2 separate regions of the Homo sapiens genome follow, and region 2 is linked to region 1. Evidence: promoter capture Hi-C in 16 types of primary human blood cells and fetal thymus (Javierre and others, 2016). All regions are on one chromosome and are shown on one strand. The core of a region is centred on a gene start or on the middle of the fragment in contact, and the rest is flanking DNA. Distances in the headings are between cores, read along the strand shown. Region 1 holds the start of ATP2A1-AS1 (ATP2A1 antisense RNA 1). Region 2 overlaps SEZ6L2 (seizure related 6 homolog like 2).

Region 1 (4,106 bases), core at 459-2,958:
GGGGAAGTCGAGGCAATGGGGGGGCAGGGTCAGTAGCAGATGACAGAAAGTGAAGTCTCTCCCTACCCCACTTCCCTGGGGCTGGGGCTACCTTTGCGTCCCTCATGAGTGACATCTCAGGCTGCAGCCCCACTGTTCCCCCTCTGTCAGCAGAAATATCTCTCTTTTCTGACCACCTCCTGCTGGAGTCTCAGCCAGCCAATCCCTGATCTGGTGGAGGGGGGAGCCCGGCCTCCCCCTGCTCCCTCATAAGGACCAGCTGGGGGCCGGGGGGTGGCCGGCTGCTCAAGTGGGACGGGGGTCAGAGCTTTGTGGAGGGAAGAAAAACCTGGAGGGGGCAGGAGAGTAAAAAGAAGAAACCCAGGCAGACAGGCAGTTGGACACACTGAGGAAGACCCCCCACGAGTGGGAACCCCCTGGAAGGAACACACCGGCCCCGGCCCCCAGGAAGGGAGCACAATGGAGGCCGCTCATGCTAAAACCACGGAGGAATGTTTGGCCTATTTTGGGGTGAGTGAGACCACGGGCCTCACCCCGGACCAAGTTAAGCGGAATCTGGAGAAATACGGCCTCAATGGTAAGTGTCCCTTGGAAGAGCGGCTGGTAATTAATGCCCTCCTGCACCCCCAAAACACACGCACACGCATGCACGCGTTTCTCCCTTCAGGGTTTCTTAAGGAAGAGCTGGGCCGTTGTCCAATGCTCGCAGGGGGAAGAAGATACTGAGAAAACAGAGTCCCGAGATCCAGAGTTTTGGGAGGTTTTAATGGGATGAACTTGATGAACCTCAAGGTGGCCTGATTCTCTTAGCCACAAAGTCTTGGGTGTGGGGGGCATGAGGCTGAACCCCAAATGAATCTGTCCTTTTCTTCTTTTTCCTGGGTAGAGCTCCCTGCTGAGGAAGGTAAGTTACTGGAATCCCTGAACTCTCATAAATGACCACCCCCCACCCCGCCCTGTCCCACTCCCTCCTCCCTGCCTCTTTAGATTCTTTGAGCAAATATCCCTTCCCAAAAGGCAAATCTCCCTCCCTAAAGGTTAGAGTCCTGTCCGGGGCAGAAGTCTCCCAGGCGCTTTCTCCTTGAAGCAGCCAACCCTTGAACTGCCCCCCACTTTGCCGAGTCTGTTTCTGGACTCCAGGCGAGCTTCTTAGCCCTTCTCTGGGCACCAAGCTGTCTGCCCACCACCCTAGAGCCTCCCCACTGCAGGCCGGAGTCCAGGGCGCTCCATCCCAGACCTTCACCCACTAGACCTTAACCCGGGGCCCTCCCCTTGCCTCCTCCCCCAGGGAAGACCCTGTGGGAGCTGGTGATAGAGCAGTTTGAAGACCTCCTGGTGCGGATTCTCCTCCTGGCCGCATGCATTTCCTTCGTAAGTGTGGGAGGGTCTCTGGGGGCTGGCTGGGGGTGTGAGGCTGGGATCGGGCGAATGCGGGGCTCGCAGTCACTGGATCCTCCCGTCCGAGTCCCGAGCATCCCATTGTACAGACGGGGCGGGCTGGCGCGCAGCAGCGGGTGTGATTCGCGTCCTCCTCTCTCCTCCCCTGCACCCCAGAGGCAGGTTTTATTTTAAGCTTTAAGGGTGTTCTCAGCCAAAACACCGAAGCTAAGCCACCCTCGCGGCTTCAAGAGCTTGGAGAGCTCGGGTTACCCACCCGAACTCCGGGCTCCGGGTCCCGCCGCGATGCCGGCTGCGGCGCGGGGGGCCACTGCCACTCCCGGCATGCGCCGGGCGGACGGCCGCTCCACCAATCCCCGCGCCCGTCGGCGCCCCTGCCCCGCCCTCCCCAGCCTCCTGACGCTGATTGGTCGAGGGGAGGACTCGCTCCTAGTGGCGGGAAAGCGCGGCGGTGTGATGATGACTCCAAGGAGCCCGGCGCCCGGTCAGGGAGGGCACTGGCATCCCTCATTACCCGCCCAGCCTGGCCTTAGCCCTTCCCCGCGCTCCCTAGGCACCCCCACCCCCGCAGGGCATCTCCAGGGCTCTGCCTCCTCTCCCGCCCTGGGGGCTACTCCCCATCCCGCGGTCCATCTGCATGTCGCGGGTTCTTCCGCAGCATGTGAGCCTCGCTGGGGACTCTGGAGGCAACGAAAGCCTCCCTGTGCCTTGGTCTCCGAACGCAGGCCCCGTCGCGTTAAGCACAAGCTGGCAGGGCCTCTCCTCTCCCTTCTCAGATTTGCTCCTTGACATTTGCCTGCTGCCTGGCGGTGGCAACAGCTGGGGCGGGGCGCGCGCAGGAGGCCCCGTAACCCTATCCCCGCTCCGGCTCCCTCGTGAAACCGGAGCTTCCCTGCCTTGGCCGAGGGGGAGGGCTGCGGGGGCCAGACCGCCTGCGAAGACCACAGGGTTTTTCCTCTCGGGTTTTGGCTCCCGTGGGATGGATGTGGCTGTGCGGGGGGTTGGCCTGAGCTTCGCTTCTAAGCCAGCAGCTTGGTCAGGGAAACCTGAAAGCATTCCCAGCTAATCCCCCAAGTGGTGCAAGTCTGTGCGCGCCCATCCCGCTGAGTAAGGCGGTGGCAGGACCTGCAGTGGATGGACAGACCCTCAGACGGATGTGGGGCCACAGCGCCCCGACGGTGCCCGGCCCTCCTGCTGGCTCCTGCACTCTCCTGCACAGTTCTCCCCTTTGCAGTGGTCCACTTCCTTTCTCCATCTGTTTTGGGGCCTCATTACCTGTCATTCTCCTTTCCCCTGCTCCCCAGGTGCTGGCCTGGTTTGAGGAAGGTGAAGAGACCATCACTGCCTTTGTTGAACCCTTTGTCATCCTCTTGATCCTCATTGCCAATGCCATCGTGGGGGTTTGGCAGGTTAGCGTTGACCCTTCCTTACCCCTTCATGTCCCAACAGTGAAGAAGAGGCCAACCCTCCCTCCAGTCTCCTCCTCCTCCATCACCTCCCCCATACTTGCCTCTTCCTCTGGTCCTATCCCCTGGTCTGGAATGGGATGGAGTGTGGGGAAGAGGTGGGAGACTGTGACCCACTGTCACTTCCTGGCTATGTGACCCTGAGCAAGTTCCTTCATCCCTCTGAGCCTCAGTTTCTTCATCCATAAAATGGGGCTAGCAATCCAGTGTGAAATCGACTAAGATGATGCATGTTCCTGGCACACAGTAGGAATTCAATAGACGCTAGCTTGATTTCCTTCTTCCACTGACCTGACCACCCCCTACATGTCCTGTCCTCTGCTTCCTGGTTTGTTTTGTTTTGTTTTGTTTTTAGGTCATTTCCAAAGTGAAAACCCAAATGCTACCTTGCTTTGGTTTTAAGAAATGTCAGGCTATAAGCCATTTTTTGGTGCTCACTGGTTTCTGAACACTGAGGATAGAAATAGCCACTTTCATACTTTGGGAGGCCGAGGCGGGTGGATCAGTTGAGGTCAGGAGTTCAAGAGTAGCCTGGCCAACATGGTAAAACCCCATCTCTACTAAAAATACAAAAAAATTAGCTGGGCATGGTGGCAGGTGCCTGTAATCCCAGCTACTCAGGAGGCTGAGGCAGGAGAATCACTTGAATGGGGAGGCGGAGGTTGCAGTGAGCCAAGATTGCACAATTGCACTCCAGCATGGGCAACAGAGTGAGACCCAGTCTCAAAAAAAAAAAAAAGAGAGAAATAGCACTTTCTCTTTGCCCCAGTGTTACAGGCGCAGCAGAGCCACCTGTGTCTGTGGTGCTGACAGGTCCAGGACAGCATCTGCAGGGCAGCCTCTGATTTTCTTTGATTTTTTATTTAGATTTTTCTTTTTGAGACAGGGTCTCGTTCTCTTGCCCAGGCTGGAGTGCAGTGGCGTAATCTCATCTCACTGCAATCTCTGCCTCCAGGTTCTGGTGATTCTCGTGCCTCAGCCTCCCAAGTAGCTGGGATTACAGGCGCGTGCTACTACGCCCGGCTTTTTTTTTTTTTTTTTTTTTTTTTTGTACTTTTCGTAGAGACGGACGGGGTTTCACCATGTTGTCCAGGCTGGTCTCGAACTCCTGACTTCAAGTGATCCGCCTGCCTCAGCCTCCCAGAGTGCTGGGATTACAGGCGTGAGTCACCATGCCCGGCCTGATTTTCTTTGATTCTTCTTTGTTCCCTCCCCAAAACCCTCTCACCTGTTTTCACCTGT
Region 2 (4,106 bases), core at 980-3,479, 1.0 Mb after region 1:
CTCATTATGCCCAGCCCAGTTCACTCACATACACTCCCTGCCTTCAGGCGTTTGAGTTTACAACCCTGTTGTGAAGGAATCATAATCATAGCCATTTCTTGTATATAAGCCTGAGCTACGTACCCTGCTAAATGTTTTACAAACAAATATAATTCTTTGTGTGTGTGCTTGTTTTTTTTTTTTTTTTTTTTTTTTTTTTTTTTTTTTTTGAGATGGGAGTCTCGCTCTGTCGCCCAGGCTGGAGTGCAGTGGCGCATCTCGGCTCACTGCAACCTCTGCCTTCTGGACTCAAGAGATTCTCCTGCCTCAGCCTCCCGAGTAGCTGCGATTACAGGCATTCGCTACCATGCCCAGCTAATTTTTGTATTTTTAGTATAGACAGGGTTTCGCCATGTTGGCCAGGCTGGTCTCGAACTCCTGACCTCAGGTGATCCACCCACCTCAGCCTCCACCAGTGCTGGGATTACAGGTGTGAGCCACCACGGCTGGCCCCAAATATAATTCTTTGTTTTGGAGACGAGAACTTGCTCTGTCACTCAAGCTGGAATGCAGTGGTGAGATCACGGCTCACTGCAGCCTCAAACTCCTGGGCTTAAGCAATTCTCGCACCACAGCCTTCTGAGTAGCTGGGACTACAGGCATATACCACCATGCCTGGCTATATTTTTTATTATTTGTAGAGACAGGGTCTCACTATGTTGCCCAGGCTGTTCTCAATCTCCTGGGCTCAAGTGATCCTCCCACCTTGGCCTTCCAAAGCACTGCAATTTCAGATGTGAGCCACCACACCTGGCACAAACATAATATTTAATCCTGATTATCCTGAGAGGCCAATGTCACTGTCATCTCCCTTGGAGCCCAGGGCTCAGGGCGGTCAAAGGACTTGGCCCATGGTCATTCAGCCAGGGAGTGGCAGAGCCGGAATCTGCCCAGGGTCACAGCCATGGAGCACTGGACAGGGACTCAGATATGTGGGTCCTGGCACACCTTCAGGCTCAATCTGCTGCCTTGGGCAGGTTCCCTCCTGAGCCCGAGGCAGCGGGGCCAGCCGAACTCTCAGCCCCATCCAGGCCTGATATCCTGTGAATCCTTCCAGGGGCGGGAAGCTTTGTCCAGCCCAAATCTGGCTACCTGAAGCTTCTCCCCTTGGTCCCACCATTGCTTCCAGATGCCACATGGAACTACAGCCCCATGTCCTTGGGGCTGGCTTCCTAAAATTTGGAGAAAGTAACCAGCTGCCATTCCTTTCTGCTCTTCAATTTTCTTTTTCTTTCTTTCTTTCTTTCTTTTTTTTTTTTTTGAGATGGAGTATCACTCCCGTGGCGCAGGATGGAATGCAATGGCACAATCTCAGCTTACTGCAACCTCCACCTCCCAGGTTCAAGCGATTCTCCTTCCTCAGCCTCCTGAGTATCTGGGATTACAGGCGTATGCCACCATGCCCAGATAGTTTTTTATTTTTAGTAGAGACGGGGTTTCACCATGTTGGCCAGGCTGGTCTCGAACTCCAGACCTCAGGTGATCCACCGCACCTGGCCCTTTCTGCTCTTCTAAAAGATACACACTCCCAGCTCCTTTAAATGTCACCTCCTCTGTGAAATCTCCTGCCCCAGCCCTGAGAAAATTAGCCCACTGCTCTCCCCACAGCACTTCGCCACGCCCAGGGCAGCATGCGCCCTGTGAACTTTCCATCTGCTCTTCACAACCTCAGTCCTACTTCGCCGATGGGGAAACCAAGCCTCAGAAATGCTAAGTGCCTCGCCCAAAGTCACCCAGTGATCACCACCCTGCGTATCCCTCCCAGACTGCGAGCTCCATAAGAGTATGGAGGGGCTTGAACCCCCTTCGCCTAACCCCAACCCAGCACGGGGCTTCAATGATGGCATTCAAATAAACCAAGTGCTCTGACAAGCCTTGGTCCTAGCAAAGTGGCTCCCTACAATTTCAACTGATAGGACTGCGGGATTGGGGCGGGGCGTAGGACAGGAAGGTGGAGCCAAGTGTGGACCCGGGGAGCCCAGTGGGAACCTGGTCGGAGCCCTTTTAGGGGCCAAACTCAGATGCCGCAGAGGAGGGGTCAGGAGGGGACGGGGCGGGGCCGTGAGACGAGGAAACAGGGACCGAGCCCAGGTCGGTGCAAGAAAGAGGGATGCAGCCCGGAGAAGATGAGAGGGAGACCCAGAGGGGACAGTTTCGGGGAACCGGGCGGAGGAGTGAGAACTAAAGGGCATGGGGGCAGGCCTTGAAGAAGATCCAGGAAGGACCCCGAGCGAAGGGATGGAACCCAGAAAGCACGGGGGTCGGGACAGGACAGGCCGACGACGGGGCCCACAGGGAAGGGGCGGGGCCGAGGGGACGCGGGCGGGGCCGGCTCACTCTTTTGGCAGGCGGGCGGCGCGGCGCTCCAAGACAGGTCCCACTGGCAAGTGAGAATGTCGGAGCCTAGCAGCTCGTAGCCAGGCTCGCACTGGTAGGTGAGCACCGTGCCCCGGATCAGGTCCCCGTGGGATGCCGTTCTCCAGCCCCACTCCGGAGGTGGCAGCTCGGGGCACGTGTCGTTCCTCGGGACCTCTGCAGGGGAGGGAAGGCGAGTTTGGAGGCTGCGTTTTAACTGCGGGCTCCCTTCCAGCCTCGGAGGCTTTGCTCTGTGCCCCCTCCCGGGATCTGTCTCTCTCTCTCTCTCTTAGAGACAGGGTTTCCTGTCGCCCAGGCTGGAGTACAGTGGTACAAGCATAGCTCACTGCAGCCTCAACCTCCTGGCTTCAAACGATCCTCCCGCCTCGGCCTCCCAAGGCCCCGGGATAACAGGCGTGAGCCACCACGACCGGCCACCTCCCGGGATCTCTGGCCTGCCCGACCCCTGCCCATCCCGGGACTCTATCCCTCAGTACCTTTGAAGTGCAATACGAAGCCCTGGCCCAGGCCTGGATTTGGGGGCCCGGGCGGTGCCTGAAACTGCAGTGTGAGGTCGGGCCCAGAGGAGAGAAGGCGGCGGCGCGGCTGAGGTCCCCGCAGCTGGGCCAAGACTCGGGCGCTGGGACCGTCCCCGTCGAACAGCGTCAGCATGTCCCCTTCCCGCACATTCAATCTGCAGGGGGTGAGACCAGGCAATGGGGCGGGGCTGCGACTGGCCCCTCCCATCCAGCTCTGCCCCATCCTCAACTCTGCTCATTGGTAGCCCCTCCTACTCTCCAGCCCCGCCCATATTCTCCTATCCCAGGTCTGGCGCCGCCTCCGTTTTGACCAACCATGGTTTCTCCTATGCTAGTGCCTCAGGGTTCCCCTATTCTATGGCTCCTCCCATGTCCTACTACCCAATCCCTAAGCTTGCACATTACTAACTCCGCCCACTGTCCACTCCCTCCTCCATCACCATGAGATCCACAGCCTAGCCCAACTCCAGCTCTGGCCAATCACAGACCAAATTCGCTAACGCCCTACACAACTCTAGGCCCCGCCTGAGTACCTGCTTTGAAGCCACGCCCACTTCAGCTTCTGTGCCATCTCATGACACTCTCATACCAATTCAGCTCACTGGATTCTCCCCAGACCTCCCCAACTTGCTGGTGTTAACGCAACAGTTTGGGTCTGTGTCCGTGGAAATAGCTCCAGGGGAAGCCTCAGAAACCTCCAAAGAGTGAGAGGCACCAGGCCAGAGCCCCTTGTTCACAGTGGCCCCTAAGGAAGGCTGCATTGCCCTATTTATTTGTCCGAGGTTGCCTGGCTAATATGTGATTTGAGCCCAGCTCTCTCACGTCTATCCTGTACCCTTAGTGCACCAGCCTATCCACCGAATTCTGGATAGATACGCAAGAGCCAGACAGGCTCAGAATGCAGGCTACTGCATTGGCATACCACACTTTGCTGAGCCTACACCCGTCGCACCCTCTGCAGGACCCAAACATACATCTCAACTTGGAGCAAGATGCGCTTCTCTTCCTGGACGTGCACGCCCCACACGCAGTCTTGGCCCGGGCTATAGCTCTGGGGCCAGTCGGGAGAGAGGACCACGCCAGCTGGTTCCGACAGCTCCCCTCCACACATGGCTAGGGAAAAAGGGGTGTCAGGTTCAGGACCCAGGTGGGCATGCTGTCTTCATTTCTCCA

The links. Contacts are between HindIII fragments. The CHiCAGO score rates a contact against its expected background, and 5 or more counts as called.
Region 2: a contact is called between a fragment that was not itself captured here and the fragment with the promoter of ATP2A1-AS1 in region 1, in 1 of 17 cell types (non-activated CD4 T cells). The highest score is 5.5, in non-activated CD4 T cells.

Annotation. Positions count from the first base shown.
Region 1 is chr16:28,878,213-28,882,318 of GRCh38, forward strand. It overlaps ATP2A1-AS1 (ATP2A1 antisense RNA 1), which reads right to left and starts at 1,709. Exons shown (of 2, transcript NR_046290.1): 1 at 1,330-1,709; 2 at 745-892. It overlaps ATP2A1 (ATPase sarcoplasmic/endoplasmic reticulum Ca2+ transporting 1), which reads left to right and starts at 276. Exons shown (of 23, transcript NM_004320.6): 1 at 276-577; 2 at 887-904; 3 at 1,289-1,371; 4 at 2,703-2,807. The coding sequence starts at 460. RefSeq lists an enhancer at 662-1,435 and silencers at 1,506-1,555, 1,576-1,925. The HindIII fragment of the contact is 3,157 bases long and covers 1,572-4,106 here.
Region 2 is chr16:29,874,380-29,878,485 of GRCh38, forward strand. It overlaps SEZ6L2 (seizure related 6 homolog like 2), which reads right to left. Exons shown (of 18, transcript NM_001243332.2): 10 at 3,908-4,046; 11 at 2,892-3,088; 12 at 2,377-2,571. Among named protein-coding and RNA genes, the nearest start is that of CDIPT, 13 kb to the left of the region's middle. RefSeq lists enhancers at 3,307-3,808, 3,809-4,106. The HindIII fragment of the contact is 2,189 bases long and covers 1,136-3,324 here.